Regions from separate parts of the Homo sapiens genome. Here region 2 is linked to region 1. The links are contacts of gene promoters, found by promoter capture Hi-C in human tissues and cell types (Jung and others, 2019). All regions are on one chromosome and are shown on one strand. Each heading gives the region's core, a stretch centred on a gene start or on the middle of the fragment in contact. The rest is flanking DNA. Distances are from core to core; before and after follow the strand shown. Region 1 holds the start of LIMK1 (LIM domain kinase 1). Region 2 overlaps GTF2I (general transcription factor IIi).

Evidence for each region. Contacts are between HindIII fragments. The study calls those that stand out against the background at their distance.
Region 2: a fragment that was not itself captured here is called in contact with the fragment with the promoter of LIMK1 in region 1 in 2 of the 25 tissues and cell types used here (dorsolateral prefrontal cortex and spleen).

The regions. Positions count from the first base shown.
Region 1 is chr7:74,080,547-74,087,750 of GRCh38, forward strand. It overlaps LIMK1 (LIM domain kinase 1), which reads left to right and starts at 3,258. Exons shown (of 16, transcript NM_002314.4): 1 at 3,258-3,499; 2 at 5,202-5,298. The coding sequence starts at 3,445. RefSeq lists enhancers at 1,958-2,636, 2,632-2,741, 2,637-3,315, 3,802-4,071, 4,583-5,182 and 1 more and silencers at 3,012-3,281, 3,402-3,451, 3,562-3,611. The HindIII fragment of the contact is 14,309 bases long and covers 1-5,980 here.
Region 2 is chr7:74,691,158-74,698,375 of GRCh38, forward strand. The region is part of intron 3 of GTF2I (general transcription factor IIi); the gene reads left to right. The region is part of intron 3 of GTF2I-AS1 (GTF2I antisense RNA 1); the gene reads right to left. Among named protein-coding and RNA genes, the nearest start is that of GTF2I-AS1, 34 kb to the right of the region's middle. The HindIII fragment of the contact is 3,479 bases long and covers 3,230-6,708 here.

The DNA.
Region 1 (7,204 bases), core at 2,008-4,507:
CAGCAAAAAAAATCTTGCATGAGCAATGTAACTGAATATGTCAGATCTGATGTTTCACCTGGAACTGTGGCTGACAAGGAGCTCCTACAAGGTGTGGAAGTGCCAGCTCCATCTTTTCGCTCATCTGGGTGTGTTAGCATCTTCTTTTTTTTTTTTTTTGTTTATTTGTTTGAGACAGGCTGTACAATGGCATGATCAGAGCTCACTAGAGCCTCCAAATCCTGGACTCAAGCGATCCTCCCGTCTCAGCCTCCTGAGTAGCTGTGACTACAGGTGCACACCACCACTCCCAGATAATTTTTTTTTTTCCGAAGAGATGTGAGGGGGTCTCACTATGTTGCCCAGGCTGGTCTTGAACTCCTGACCTCAAGCGATCCTCCCAGTTCAGCCTCCCAAAGTGCTGGGATTACAGGTATAAGCCACTGCACCCAGTCTGCATCATCTTCAATCTGTGCTTTCTTTTTTTTTTTTTGAGATGGAGTCTTGCTCTGTCACCAGGCTGGGGTGCAGTGGCGCAATCTCGGCTCACCGCAACCTCCAACTCCCTGGTTCAAGCGATTTTCCTGCCTCAGCCTCCCAAGTAGCTGGGATTGCAGGCACGTACCACCATGCCCAGCTAATTTTTGTATTTTTAGTAGAGACGGGGTTTCACCATGTTGGCCAGGATGGTCTCGATCTCCTGACCTCACGATCCACCCGCCTCAGCCTCTCAAAGTGCTGGGATTACAGGTGTGAGCCACCACGCCAGGCCCAATCTGTGCTTTCTTTGCAGGAATTGTTTTCAACTATGAGTCCATTCTGTGAGGGTTAATTTAGTCAAAACTGGATAACATCACTCAACCAAGCTGGCTCAGGCTCACAGCCCCTCCAGGCCACTATGCACTTCTCTGCCCTGCACTGTGGGCACAGCATCAACATGGCCCTGCCCGCTGCATCCAGACGGGATTGGTTAACGGGAGGCAATGGAAGAATAAGAAGAGCAGGGGAGTCAGATCAGAATAGCCCTTCTGGGCCCTCTTCCCCATGAGTCCCCCAGAACTGGGGACCCCTCTTGCACAGCTCCTCTCAGGCAGGCCTCTCCTCCAGGGACCCCCTCTATGCCCCCTTACCCTGGGCTGGTAACTGCTGCCACCCCTCCAACTGTGCCAGTCCTTACTGATCTCCTTTAATCCCCCCTCCCCAGTGCATTGCAAACATCCCCTTTATCAAACTCTCCCCAGTTAGCCCCACTAAGTGGCACTTTCTGTTTCCAGCCAGGGTCCTGCCTGGTATATGCCCTACAGCCAAGTTACAAGGCTCTCATTCCCCTCTCTTTCCTTCCCCTTTTTTTCCCTCCCTATCTTTTTTGACAGGGTCTCTGTCACCCAGGCTAGAGTGCAATGGTGCAATCATAGCTCACTGCAGCCTCAACCTCCTGAGGTCAAGTATCCTCCCACCTCAGCCTCCCAAGTAACTAACTACAGGCATGAGCCACCATGCCTGGCTAATTAAAAAAAAAAAAAAAAGTCTGGGCGCGGTGGCTCACGCCTGTAATCCCAGCACTTTGGGAGGCCAAGGTGGGTGGATCACCTGAGGTCCAGAATTCGAGACCAGCCTGACCAACATGGAGAAACCCCGTCTCTATTAAAAATACAAAATTAGCCAGGTATGGTGGTGCATGCCTATAATCCCAGCTATTCCAGAGGCTGAGGCAGGAGAATGGCTTGAACCCGGGAGGTGGAGGTTGCTGTGAGCTGAGATCGCACCATTGCACTCCAGCCTGGGCAACAAGAGTGAAACTCCATTTCAAAAAAAAAAAAAGTTAGAAGAGACAGGGTTTCACTTCATTGCTTAAGCTGATCTCCAATTCCTGGCCCCACGTGATGCTCCCACCTTGGCCTCCCAAAGTGCTGGGATTATAGGTGTGAGCCACTGTGCCCAGCCTTCTTTCTCATGAGAAATTAAAAATTCTGGCCAGGCGTGGTGGCTCACACCTGTAATCCCAGCACTTTGGGAAGCCGAGGAGGGTGGATCACCTGAGGTCAGGAGTTCAGGACCAGCCTGGTCAACATGGTGAAACCTCATCTCTACTAAAAATACAAAAATTAGTCGGTCATGGTGGTGCACGCCTGTAATATCAGCTACTCGGGAGGCTAAGGTGGGAGAATTGCTTGAACCTGGGAGGTGGAGACTGCGGTGAGCCGAGATCCCGCCACTGCACTCCAGCCTAGGCAACAGAGCGAGACCGAATCTAAAAAAAGAAAAAAAAAATCTAGTATTTTCTTCCCACCCCACGTAATTGTTTTGCACCCAGGGGTGAGTGCCCCCCACTTTGCAGACGTGCCTAGACCTCTCCCCACAAACATGATGACTAGAGTTGGAGCTGGGCTAGCGCTGCCTCTTGTTCACTGGGTTCACGTGGGCACGTGGCTCCACTCCGGTCACTGCTTCCTGGGCAGAGGGATGACGTGGAAGGTAGACCTAGGGGGGACAGGGTTGCTTCCTGCCCATGTCCAGCATTCTAGAATTGTCCACATCTAGGCAGGGCGTTCCACCATCAGTGCTGGACTGGACCACCCAATTCCTTTGGACGCTTGACTCAGCCCAAACCCGTGCTCCCTCCAGGACCCTGGGCAGGGCAGCCCCAGCTCCAGGTAATCGGCACTGAGAAGAGTACACCTGTCACCGCCTGGCAGGGGCTCGCTCCTTTCTCTGGTGCTGCTCATTCGCGAGGCCTGAGACGCGGACCGTCACCTTCCCCGGGCCCAGCCTGGCCTCAATGCAGGCCTCAGAGAGAGGGACAAAACCCGGCCCGCCTCCCTCCCCTCCCCAAGGCGACCACCAGTGTCCTGGGGGTCCACAGGGCCTCTCCAGCTCTGATCCGAGTTCCCGGCTGCAGCTGGTTTGGGTCTGTGGGGGCCTCGCGCAGGGAAGCGGAGGCCCCTTCTCTAGGCTCCTACATCCTCCTGGCCTGCCCCAGCAGAGCTAGCGGCCCTCCGAGACAGCTGGGCCTCGCAGCTCCCAGCCGAGGCCTGTCGCTGGGAGAAAGAAGAATGAATGAAGGGCGGAAGGGGCGGGGAGGGGCGGGGCGCGCCGCGCCAGCTCGCGGCGCCCCCAGGCCGGGCCGCAGCGGGGCGTGGCCTCTAGAGGCGTGGCCTTGGGCGTGGGGGCGGGGTTTTCTGGTGGGGGCGGGGCCGCGCAGGGCCGTTCCCGCCGCCGGCCGCCCGCGCCCCGCCCCCGTGCCGCAGCTCACAGGCCCCGCCTCGGTCCGCCCCTCCGCTCGCTCCCCAAGCCGCCGCGGCGCCGAGCCGGTTTCCCCGCCGGTGTCCGAGAGGCGCCCCCGGCCCGGCCCGGCCCGGCCCGCGCCCTCCGCCCCCGCCTCCCCGGGCCGGCGGCGGTGGGCGAGCTCGCGGGCCCGGCCGCCCCCAGCCCCAGCCCCGCCGGGCCCCGCCCCCCGTCGAGTGCATGAGGTTGACGCTACTTTGTTGCACCTGGAGGGAAGAACGTATGGGAGAGGAAGGTGCGCGGGCCGCGGGGTGTGGGGCGAGGGCCTGGAGGGGGTGCCCGGGGCAGCGTGGGGCACGGGAGGGGGCCGGGTCTGCCAGGAGGCCGCGCCCCTGCCTCCTCCGGGATGAGCTCGTCCTTACGAAGCCCGCAGGCCCCTCCCTGTCCCCCTCCCGCCCGGGATCCCCCTCCCCGGCCCCCGGCGAGCTGCCCTCCTGCGGGTCTGGGGGCCCCTGGACCCTTTTTCCTCCTCCCACGTCCCCCCGCGAAGGACTCCCAGACACTGCCCACCCCGCGTCGGCCTCCATCCGCGTGCTCTGTCCACCACCCGGGCCTCGCCCTGGGGCCACCCTTTATCCAGTCTCGGAAGAAAGAGCGGCTGGGGAAGCCGCAGCCCCGGGTCCCAGTGGCCGCCGGGCGCCTGCCCGGCTCTGTGACCTTGAGCCAGGCGCTGACTTCCTGGTCCTCAGTTTCCCCTTCTGTACATTTGGAAACTGGGTAGTTGCCCCCCCGGTGTCGGTGATTGGGGGCCAGATGGGTAGAGCGGAGATAGGCGTCCAGGAAGCCGGAGGCCGTGTACTGCGGGAGCCTCATCCACTCTCCCTGTCCGTGCCCCAAACCCGGTGCCTGCCCTCAGTCTTGGCTGGGAGCATGACTCATCCTAACCTCCTCTTTAGCCCCTTCTCCCTCACTGGGGCCCAAGGCGCAGTACTGCACTGCAGTTAGGGTTCAAGGACTCCCCCAGCCTAGGACAGGGTCTGGGGGCCCCTCCTTGGATCTCCTTCGCTGACCTGTCACTTAGATCCACCTGGCCCCAAGGCAGGGCCTGACTCCACACCTCCCCCTGCCACCAACTCTTCCCAGGCCCATGAAAACCTGATTGGGGTAGGGGCCCACCTTCCTGTAGCCCCTGCCTACCTAAGGTACCTGCGTCTTCACAGAGGGTCAGGCTGTTGTGGCCTTGGGACCTAGCTATGTGACTGGGCAAGCCATGCCATCTCTGGGGCTCAGTCTCCCCTTCTGTACAGTGGAGAGGGGCAGGTCTGGGGCATTTTCCAGGGCCCACCAGCTCCAAGGGTGCCAGGCCCCAAGGATGACTAAGCATGCCTGTGGCTGGCTAGAGGAGGTGCCAGGCCTCCCTGGGACAGGTGTCTGGGAGTACCCAGGTCTGCAGCCCCCTCCCCTTGCCAAGCCAGGGCATTCATTGCCAAGGATCTGTTAGGGCCGGCACCTCCAGGCTTCCTGCCCTTGACCTCCCAGCTGGCTTCAGCCCAGGATGCACTAATCCAGCCCTGTCCAGTCCCTGCCTTTGAAGGGCCCTCTTAGTACTTCTTCCTGGGCAGGAGAGGGAAGAAAGGAGGCTGTGATAGGAATGTCACCCACTGCCTTATCCCTAAAGCCACTGCTTCCTTTCTCCTCATTTACCTTGCCAGATCCAATGCTATAGCGGGAGGATGGACCTGATCCTCCTCCTAAGCTGATACATAGGGAAACAGGGCCAGAGAAGCTTGGCAACCTAGTCAGTATCTCAGCAAGACTCAGGCCAGCGCCCTTTCTTCTCCTATTTGGCACAGCGACTGCCCTGCCTGGGCGCTGCACATGTGCAGTGTGCGAGGATTGGTGCAGGTGTAGGTATATGTGGGGTGGGCAGGGCAAGCTGGGCCTGCACCAGATCACACTTCCTGAGAATGCTTCCCAACTCCCTTCCCACCCTGCAGGAAGCGAGTTGCCCGTGTGTGCAAGCTGCGGCCAGAGGATCTATGATGGCCAGTACCTCCAGGCCCTGAACGCGGACTGGCACGCAGACTGCTTCAGGTAGGGTGGGGTGCCCAGGGCCTGTGTTGCCCTAAACAAGGCCTGCCAGAGAGGACAGGCTGGTCAAGGAATGGGGGAGGCCGGGATATGCCTCCTGGTGCCGTCCCCTATTGTGACTTCGTGGCCTTAATTTACCATTTATGACATGAGGTGTTTTGACTAGAAAATCCCTACAGGCCTTCCTGTTGTCATTTTATTTATCTATTTTTTTTTCTTTTTGAGACGGAGTCTCGCTCTGTCACCCAGGCTGGAGTACAGTGGTGCGATCTTGGCTCATTGCAACCTCTTCCTCCTGGGCTCACGCAGTTCTCCTGTGTCAGCCTCTGGAGTAGCTGGGATTACAGGCGTGCACCACCACGCCCAGCTAATTTTTGTATTTTTAGTAGAGACGGGTTTTGCCATGTTAGCCAGGCTGGTCTGAAACTTCTGACCTCAAGTGATCTTCCCACCTCAGCCTCCCAAAGTGCTGGGATGACAGACATAAACCACCGCTCCTGGCCTCATTTTATTTTCTTTTATGTATTTTTCTTTTTTCGAAATGGTCTTGCTCTGTTGCCCAGGCTGGAGTGCAGTGGTGCCATCTCGGCTCATTGCAACCTCCATCTCCCGGGCTAAAGTGATCCTCCTACTTCAGCCTCCCGAGTAGCTGGGATTATAGGTATACACCACAATGCTCAGCTAATTTTTTAAATTTTGTGTAAAGACAGGGTCTCACTATTGAGACCCAGGCTGGTCTTGAACTTGTGACCTCAAGCAATCCTCCTGCCTTGGCCTCCGAAAGTGCTAGGCTTACAGGCGTGAGCTAACGCCTTGGCCTCTGTTGTCATCCTAGATCTCTGAGATCTAAATCTTAGAGAGGATGGGAGAGACCTCCAATTGAGCCAGTGCCTGCAATTCAGCCCCCTGCTGGCACCCAGACAGGGGGAAGAGTTGGAAGGAATGTCCCTCCTGCCTTCTGGGTGTTCATGCTCTTGCAGGGAGGGAAGACAAACCAGGCCTTAAGGGAAACCAGGCCACCCTCAGTGTCTTCCAGGCTGCTTGCGAACATGCATAACCCAGTCACACCAGCCCCAGTGTCCAGACACACACCCACAGGTAGGAAGAAAGTAGGGTCAGGGTTGTGGCGGAGGATAAAGAGTACATGAGGACCTGAAGGTCACCCAGTAGGACCATCCTGAGAAGCCAGGAGCAGGGGTCTACCTGCCTTGAGCCAGAGCAGGGCCAGAGCAGGGGTCTCAAAGGATGTGAGATTTCCTGGGTAGAAAAGTAGAGTGGAGGTGGGGCGTGGTGGCTCACACCTATAATCCCATCACTTTTTGGGGCTGAGGTGGGCAGATCACTTGAGTTCAGGAGTTCGAGACAAGCCTGGGCAATATGGCAACACCCTGTCTCCACTGAAAATACAAAAAATTAGCCGGGCGTGGTGGCGCATGCCTGTAGTCCCAGCTACTCAAGAGGCTGAGGTGGCAGGGTTACTTGAGCCTGGGAGGTGGAGGCTGCAGTGAGCTATGATCGCACCACTGCACTCTAGCCTGGGCAATAGAGCGAGACCCAGTCTCAATTTTTAAAAAAGAAAGAAAGAAAAACAAATGGTGTGGGAGAGAATTACAGGCATAGTCACCAAACAGCAAGGTTCAGGGGAGAAAACTCCATAAAAGGGTAGAAGGTGAAGCTTCTGGGATGCCCAGCAGGGGTCAAGACATCCACCACTAGGACTTTATTTTAGGCTTCTGCCTTGGTTTATTTTTTGGTTTTTGGTTTTTTTGAGACAGTCTTGTTGTGTCGCCCAGGCTGGGGAGCAGTGGCGCGATCCCTCCTCACTGCAACCTCCGCCTCCCAGGTTCAAGCGATTCTCCTGCTTCAGCCTCCCAAGTAGCTGGGATTACAGGTGTGCACCACCACGCCC
Region 2 (7,218 bases), core at 3,719-6,218, 610 kb after region 1:
AAATATTTGTAGGTAAGACAAGTTATATTATTTTCTTTCTTTCTTTCTTTCTTTTTTTTTTTTTTTGAGATGGAGTTTTGCTCATGTTGCCTAGGCTGGAGTGCAGTGGCACACTCTTGGCTCACCACAACCCCCGCTGCGTGAGTTCAAGTGATTCTCCTGCCTCAGCCTCCCAAGTAGCTGGGATTACAGGCACGCGCCAGCACGCCTGGCTAATTTTGTATTTTTAGTAGAGACGGGGTTTCTCCATGTTGGTCAGGCTGGTCTCAAACTCCCGACCTCAGGTGATCTGCCCACCTTGGCCTCCCAAAGTGCAGAGGGATTATAGGCGTGGGCCACTGCGCCTGGCCAAGTTATATTTTCTTCTAAAACAGAATGAGGTTTAAACTAAAAAAGATTTTCTGAAATGTTTATGGAGACATTTCAAAATGCTCAAAAGGAATCACTGAAATATGTCAGGATAGATACTGAAGAGTTAAGAAAAATGGTAGTGTTTGTTGTACGGTGTTCCTTGCTTGGCTTTACTCTGGGTTAATGAGATGCATTAGAGAGAAGGTAATGAAGGTAGAGAAATTTTGAATAGGTTAAAACTTTTACTCAGATAAGGAGTTATTTTCTTTTTCTTTTTTTTTTTTGAGACAGAGTTTCACTCTTGGCCCCCTGGGCTGGAGTGCAATGGCACGATCTCGGCTCATTGCAACCTCCACCTCCCATGTTCAAGCAATTCTTCTACCTCATCCTCCCGAGTAGCTGGGATTACAGGTGCCCACCACCATGCCTGGCTAATTTTTGTAATTTTAGTAAAGACAGGGTTTTGCCATGTTGGCCAAGTTGGTCTCAAACTCCTGACCTCAGGTGATCTGCTTGCCTTGGCCTCCCAAAGTGCTAGGATTTCAGGCATGAGCCACCACTCTCGGCTTTTTTTTTTTTTTTAAGAGATGGGGTCTCGCTCCGTCACCAGGCTGGAGTGCAGTGGCGCGATCTCCGCTCACTGCAACTTCCACCTCCTGTATTCAAGCAATTCTTCTACCTCAGCCTCTGGAGTAGCTGGGATTACAGGTGCACACCACCATACCTAGATAATTTTTTGTATTTTTAGTACAGACAGGGTTTCTCCATGTTGGCCAGGCTGGTCTTGAGCTCCTGACCCGAGGAGCCCACCTCGGCCTCCCAAAGTGCTGGGATTACAGGCGTGAGCCACCACATCCGGCCGGGAGTTCTTTTCTAGATAAAAAGTTGGTGTGTTGAAAACCAGTGATTCACTGTGCAAGTTTGTTTAAGCATATTGCAAAATTAAACAGTTCTCCTCCACTCCCTCACAGATACGAGTCACCTTATCACAGTCTTCAGTGAGTTTTGTAATCTGCATTTAGAGCAGTGGTGAGCTTATTTGACATTGGAACAGTGTTGAAATTTACTATAGGGTTTTAATACCCACAGCCTTTCACAGTATGACCATTTTCATATCTGTGTTTAACCTAACACTGTAGGTTTTATGTTAACTGATTGATACAGCATTTTCTTAAAAACATGGAAAGGGAACAAAAAAAGCTAGGGTATCTATAGGCACATATTATATATGGGCATACCTCATTTTTTGTTGTTGTCATTTTTGTTTTTTTGAGACGGAGTTTTGCTCTTGTTGCCCAGGCTAGAGTGCAATGGTGCGATCTCGGCTCACCGCAACCTCTGCCTCTTGGGTTCAAGTGATTCTCCTGCCTCAGCCTCCCGAGTAGCTGGGATTACAGGCATGCACCACCACACCCAGCTAGTTTTGTATTTTTAGTAGAGATGGGGTTTCTCCATGTTGGTCAGGCTGGTCTCGTACTCCTGACCTCAGGTTATCTGCCCGCCTCGGCCTCCCAAAGTGCTGGGATTACAGGCATGAGCCACTGTGCCCGACCGGGCATATCTCATTTTTTTTTTTTGTGCCTTGCAGACACTGCAGTTTTCACACATTGAAGATTTGTGGCAACCTTGTGTCAAGTCTATTGGTGCCATTTTTCCTGCAGCATGTGCTTACTTGGTTCTCTGTGTTGCATTTTGGTAACTCTTGGCATAGCATTATTTGAGACTTTTTCATGATTATTGTATCCGCTGTAGTGGAATTTTTTTTTTTTTTTTTTTTTTTTTTTTGAGATGGAGGTTTGCTCCGTCACCCTGGCTGGAGTGCAGTGGTGCGATCTCGGCTCACTGCATCCCCTGCCTCCTTGGTTCAAGGTATTGAGATCAGTGATCTTTGATGTTACTATTGTAATTGTACTGGGAGTCCTCGAACGCACACATATAATATGGCAAACCTAATAGGTAAATATGTGTTCTGACTGCTTCACCAATCGCCTGGTCCCCCATCATTCCCTTTCCTCAGGCCTCCCTGGTCCCTGAGACACAATATTGAAATTAGGCCGGCCAGGCACGGTGGCTCATGCCTGTCATCCTAGCACTTTGGGAGGCCGAGATGTGTGGACCACGAGGTCAAGAGATCGAGACCATCCTGGCCAACATGGTGAAACACCATCTCTACTAAAAATACAAAAAATTAGCTGGGTGTGGTGGCGCGTGCTTGTAGTCCCAGCTATTTGGGAGGCTGAGGCAGGTGAATTACTTGAACCTGGGAGGTGGAGGTTGCAGTGAGCCAAGATCGCACCACTGCACTCCAGCCTGGCGAAAGAGCAAGACTCCGTCTCAACGAAAAAAAAAGGAAATTAGGCCAATTAATAGACCTATAGTGGCCTCTGAGTGTTCAAGTGAAAGGAAGACTTGCAGGCTGCTCACTTTACATCAAAAGCAGAAATGATGAAGCTTAGTGAGGAAGGCATGTCAGCAGCTGAGGTAGGCTGAAAGCTAGGCTGAACAGGTAGCCAGGTGGAGAATGCGTAGGAAAAGTTCTCGAAGGAAATGAAAACTGCTGCTCCAGTGAACACGCAAATGATAAAGCAAAACAGCTTATTGCTGATAGGAAGAAAGTTTGAATGGTGTGGATAGAAGATCAAACCAGCCACAGCATTCCCTTAAGCCACAGCGTAATCCAGAGTGAGGCCCTAACTCTCTTCAATTCTGTGAAGGCTGAGATGGGTGAGGAAGCTGCAGAAGAAAAATTGGAAGCTAGCAGAGGTTGGCTCATGAGGTTTAAGGAAAGACACAGTCAGCTGGGGGCGGTGGCTCACGCCTGTAATCCCAGCACTTTGGGAGGCTGAGGTGGGCAGATCGTCTGAGCTCAGGAGTTCAAGACCACCCTAGGCACCCTGGTGAAACCCCGTCTCTTCTAAAATACAAAAAATTAGCCAGGCCTGGTGGCGTGCACCTGTAGTCCCAGCTGCTCTGGAGGCTGAGGTACGAGAATCGCTTGAGCCCAGGAGGCGGAGGTTGCAGTGAGCTGAGATCTCGCCATTGCACTCCAGCCTGGACTCTTGAGATCTGTCTCAAAAGAAAAAAAAAGGAAAGACAGAGTCTCTATAACATAAAAGTGCAAGGTAAAGCAGCAAGTGTTTGATGTAGAAACTGCAGCAAGTTCTTTAGAAGATCTAGCTGAGGTAATTCATGAAGATGGCTACACTCACAAAACCCGATTTTCAACGTAGACAAAACAGCCTTATATTGGAAGATACTCTCTAGGACTTTGCTAGCTAGAGAGAAGTTCATTCCTGGCTTCAAAGCTTCAAAGGACAAGCTGAATTCCTTGTGAGGGGTTAACGCCGCTGGTTACTTTGAAGCCATGTTCATTTACCATTCTGAAAATCCTGGGGTCCTGAAGAGTTACACTAAATCTGCTCTGCCTGTGCTCTATTGATAGAACAATAAAGCCTGGATGACAGCACATCTCTTGATAGTGTTGTTCACCGAATATTTTAAGCCCACTTTTGAGACCTACTGCTCAGAAAAAAAGATTGCTTTCAAAATATGACTGCTCACAGTCACTCACAGAGTCCTGATGGAGGTGTATAAGGAGATGCTTGCCATTTTATTTTTATTTTTTATTTAGTTTTTTTTGAGACAGAGTTTTGCTCTTGTTGCCCATGCTGGAGTGCAATGGCGCGATCTCAGCTCACTGCAACCTCCATGAACACTGTTGAAATGATAACAAAGGATTTAGAGTATGACATAAACTTAGTTCATAAAGCAATGGCAGGGTTTTGGAGGATTGACTCCAATTTTGAAACAAGTTCTACCGTGGGTGAAATGCTACCAAATAGCCTCACACTACAGAGAGACCTTTCATGAAAGCAAGAGTCAATGTAACTTTTATATGCATTGGGAAACCAAAACATCTGTGTGACTTTACTTTATACTTGTATTATTGTGGTGATTTGGAAATGAACCTGCAGATGCTTGTATGCCACTAAGGTCTAAAGTTAAACTTCTGATGTCAGTTTAGATTAAATTGGTGATACATTCAGCAACTTATTAGTGAACAAAAAGTTTTGTTAATTCACGAATTTTAATTCCCAATTGTATTTTTAGTTTGTTTTAAAAACTATCCCCTGCCACTGTATTCCTCCCCCTGTCCCTTACCCCCATGCTGTAATCTTCTAAGCTTTATGTTAGTAACTTATTTTTAAAATGTTGACATTATTATAATGTTGAGAAATGTTCAAGCATTGATTATGTTTCTGTGTTTCTTTATACTAATAATGCTGTTTTGATTGTGTGTGTATCAGCTGCTGTCTGCCCCACCAATACCATAAGCCCGCCTGCAGCTGTACTTATTCTCCCCTTCCCTGTCCTGCCTGGCTTATGTGGTTCTCCACTGGTTAGAACTAAGCATTAAGGGCGCTGTCCTCAGCTGCAAGCTGTAGTCACTGTCCATCAGTATTCATACTTTGTTTTTATTGCTAATAATTTTTTTTTTTTTTTTAAGGAGTCTCGCCCTGTCACCCAGGCTGGAGTGCAGTGGCGTGATCTTGGCTCACTGCAACCTCAGCCTCCCAGGTTCAAGCGATTCTTCTGTCTCAGCCTCCCGAGTAGCTGGGATTACAGGCACACCTGGCTAATTTTTGTATTTTTAGTAGAGATGGGGTTTTGCCCTGTTGGCCTGGCTGGTCTCGAACTCCTTACCTCAAGTGATCCACCCACCTTGGCCTCCCAAAGTGCTAGGATTACCGGCGTGAGCCACCGTGACTGGCCTCATTGTTAATAATTTGATCCATGGAGAATGGTTTCTGTATCTAATTCTCCTTCTTCTCTTTTTTTTTGAGACAGAGTCTCACTATCGCCCATGGAGTGCAGTGGTGCGATCTTGGCTCACTGCAACTTCTGCCTCCCAGGTTCAAGCAAGTCTCCTGCCTCAGCCTTTCTAGTAGCTGGGATTACAGGCGTGTGTCACTACACTCGGCTAATTTTTTTTTTTTTTTTCGAGACGGAGTCTCGCTCTGTCGCCCAGGCTAGAGTGCAGTGGCACGATCTCAGCTCACTGCAAGCTTCACCTCCCGGGTTCACGCCATTCTTCTGCCTCCGCCTCCCAAGTAGCTGGGACTACAGGCGCCCACCACCATGCCTGGCTAATTTTTTGTATTTTTTAGTAGAGGTGGGGTTTCACCATGTTGGCCAGACTGATCTTAAACTCCTGACCTCAGGCGATCTGCCCTCCTTGGCCTCCCAAAGTGCTGGGATTACAGGCATGAGCCACTGCACCCGGCCTAATTCTCAAGTACCTCTTACTTGTTTGTGTAAAGTACTTTGCAGATAAGGAGCAATAATGGTCTTCTGGAAGGTAATCAATAGGTTTATGAGGCAATCATAGAAATTCTTCAGGAGAATTCTGAGCGCTTTTCTGGGATTTAGAAAAGCGTTGTTCAGCAGAAAAAAGTATCATGTGAGTCTCTCACATAATTTAAAACTTTCTAGTTAGAACATTAAAGAAAAATAAAGAAAAACAAGTGAAATTCATTTTACTGGTAATACTTTAACTTATTATATCTAAAATATTTCAACATGTAATCAATTTAAAAATTATTAATGGGCCGGGTGTGGTGGCTCATGCCTGTAATCCCAGCACTTTGGGAGGCAGAGGCAGGCGGATCACGAGGTCAGGAGATCGAGACCATGTGGCCAACATGGTGAAACCCTGTCTCTACTAAAAATACAAAAATTAGCTGGGAGTGGTGGCGCGCACCTGTAATCCCAGCTACTCGGGAGGCTGAGGCAGAAGAATCGTTTGAACCTGGGAGGTGGAGATTGCAGTGAGCCACGATCGTGCCACTGCACTCCAGCCTGGTGACAGAGCAAGACTCCGTCTCCAGAAAAAAAAAATTATTAATGGGATATTTGTCATACTTTTTTTGTACCAAGTCTTCAAAATCCAGTGTGTATTGTACACTCATGAAACATCTGAATTTGGACCAGCCAAGTTGCAAGTGCCACATGTATCTATTTGTTATCGTGCTAGACTTTGCAAGCCTAGAATTTTTTTGTGTCGATAATCTTCTCATATTTAAATTTGTAACCAATACAAATTTTCTTTTTTAAAGTAGTACAAGGGTACTGGTATGTAGTATTTTTAGCTATAGCTACACTTATTTCAGAGATGGTCACCATTTCATATTACTTTCATTCATCTAAGTATTTTAGATTTTTATTTGAAAAGTTCCCTTTTAAATCTCCATCTCCCTGCCTTTTATTTTTTATTTTTTTGAGACGGAGTCTTGCTCTGTCGCCAGGCTGGAGTGCAGTGGTGCAATCTTGGCTCACTGCACCCTCCACCTCCCGGGTTCAAGCAATTCTCCTGCCTCAGCCTCCCAAGTAGCTGAGACTACAGGTGTGTGCCACCATGCCCAGCTAATTTTTGTATTTTTTGTTTGTTTGTTTGTTTGTTTGTTTGAGACGGAGTCTCACTCTGTCGCCCAGGCTGGAGTGCAGTGGCGCAATTTCCGCTCGCTGCAAGCTCCACCTCCCGGGCTCACGCCATTCTCTTGCCCCAGCCTCCTGAGTAGCTGGGACCACAGGCGCCCGCCACCACGCCCGGAGAATTTTTTGTATTTTTAGTAGAGACGGAGTTTCACTGTGTTAGCCAGGATGGTCTCGATCTCCTGACCTCGTGATCCACCCGCCTCGGCCTCCCAAAGTGCAGGGATTACAGGCGTGAGCCACCGCGCCCGGCCTAATTTTTGTATTTTTAGTAGAGACGGTGGTTTCATCATGTTGACCAGGACGCTCTCAATCTCTTGACCTTGTCATCTGCCAGCCTCAGCCTCCCAAAGTGCTGGGATTACAGGTGTGAGC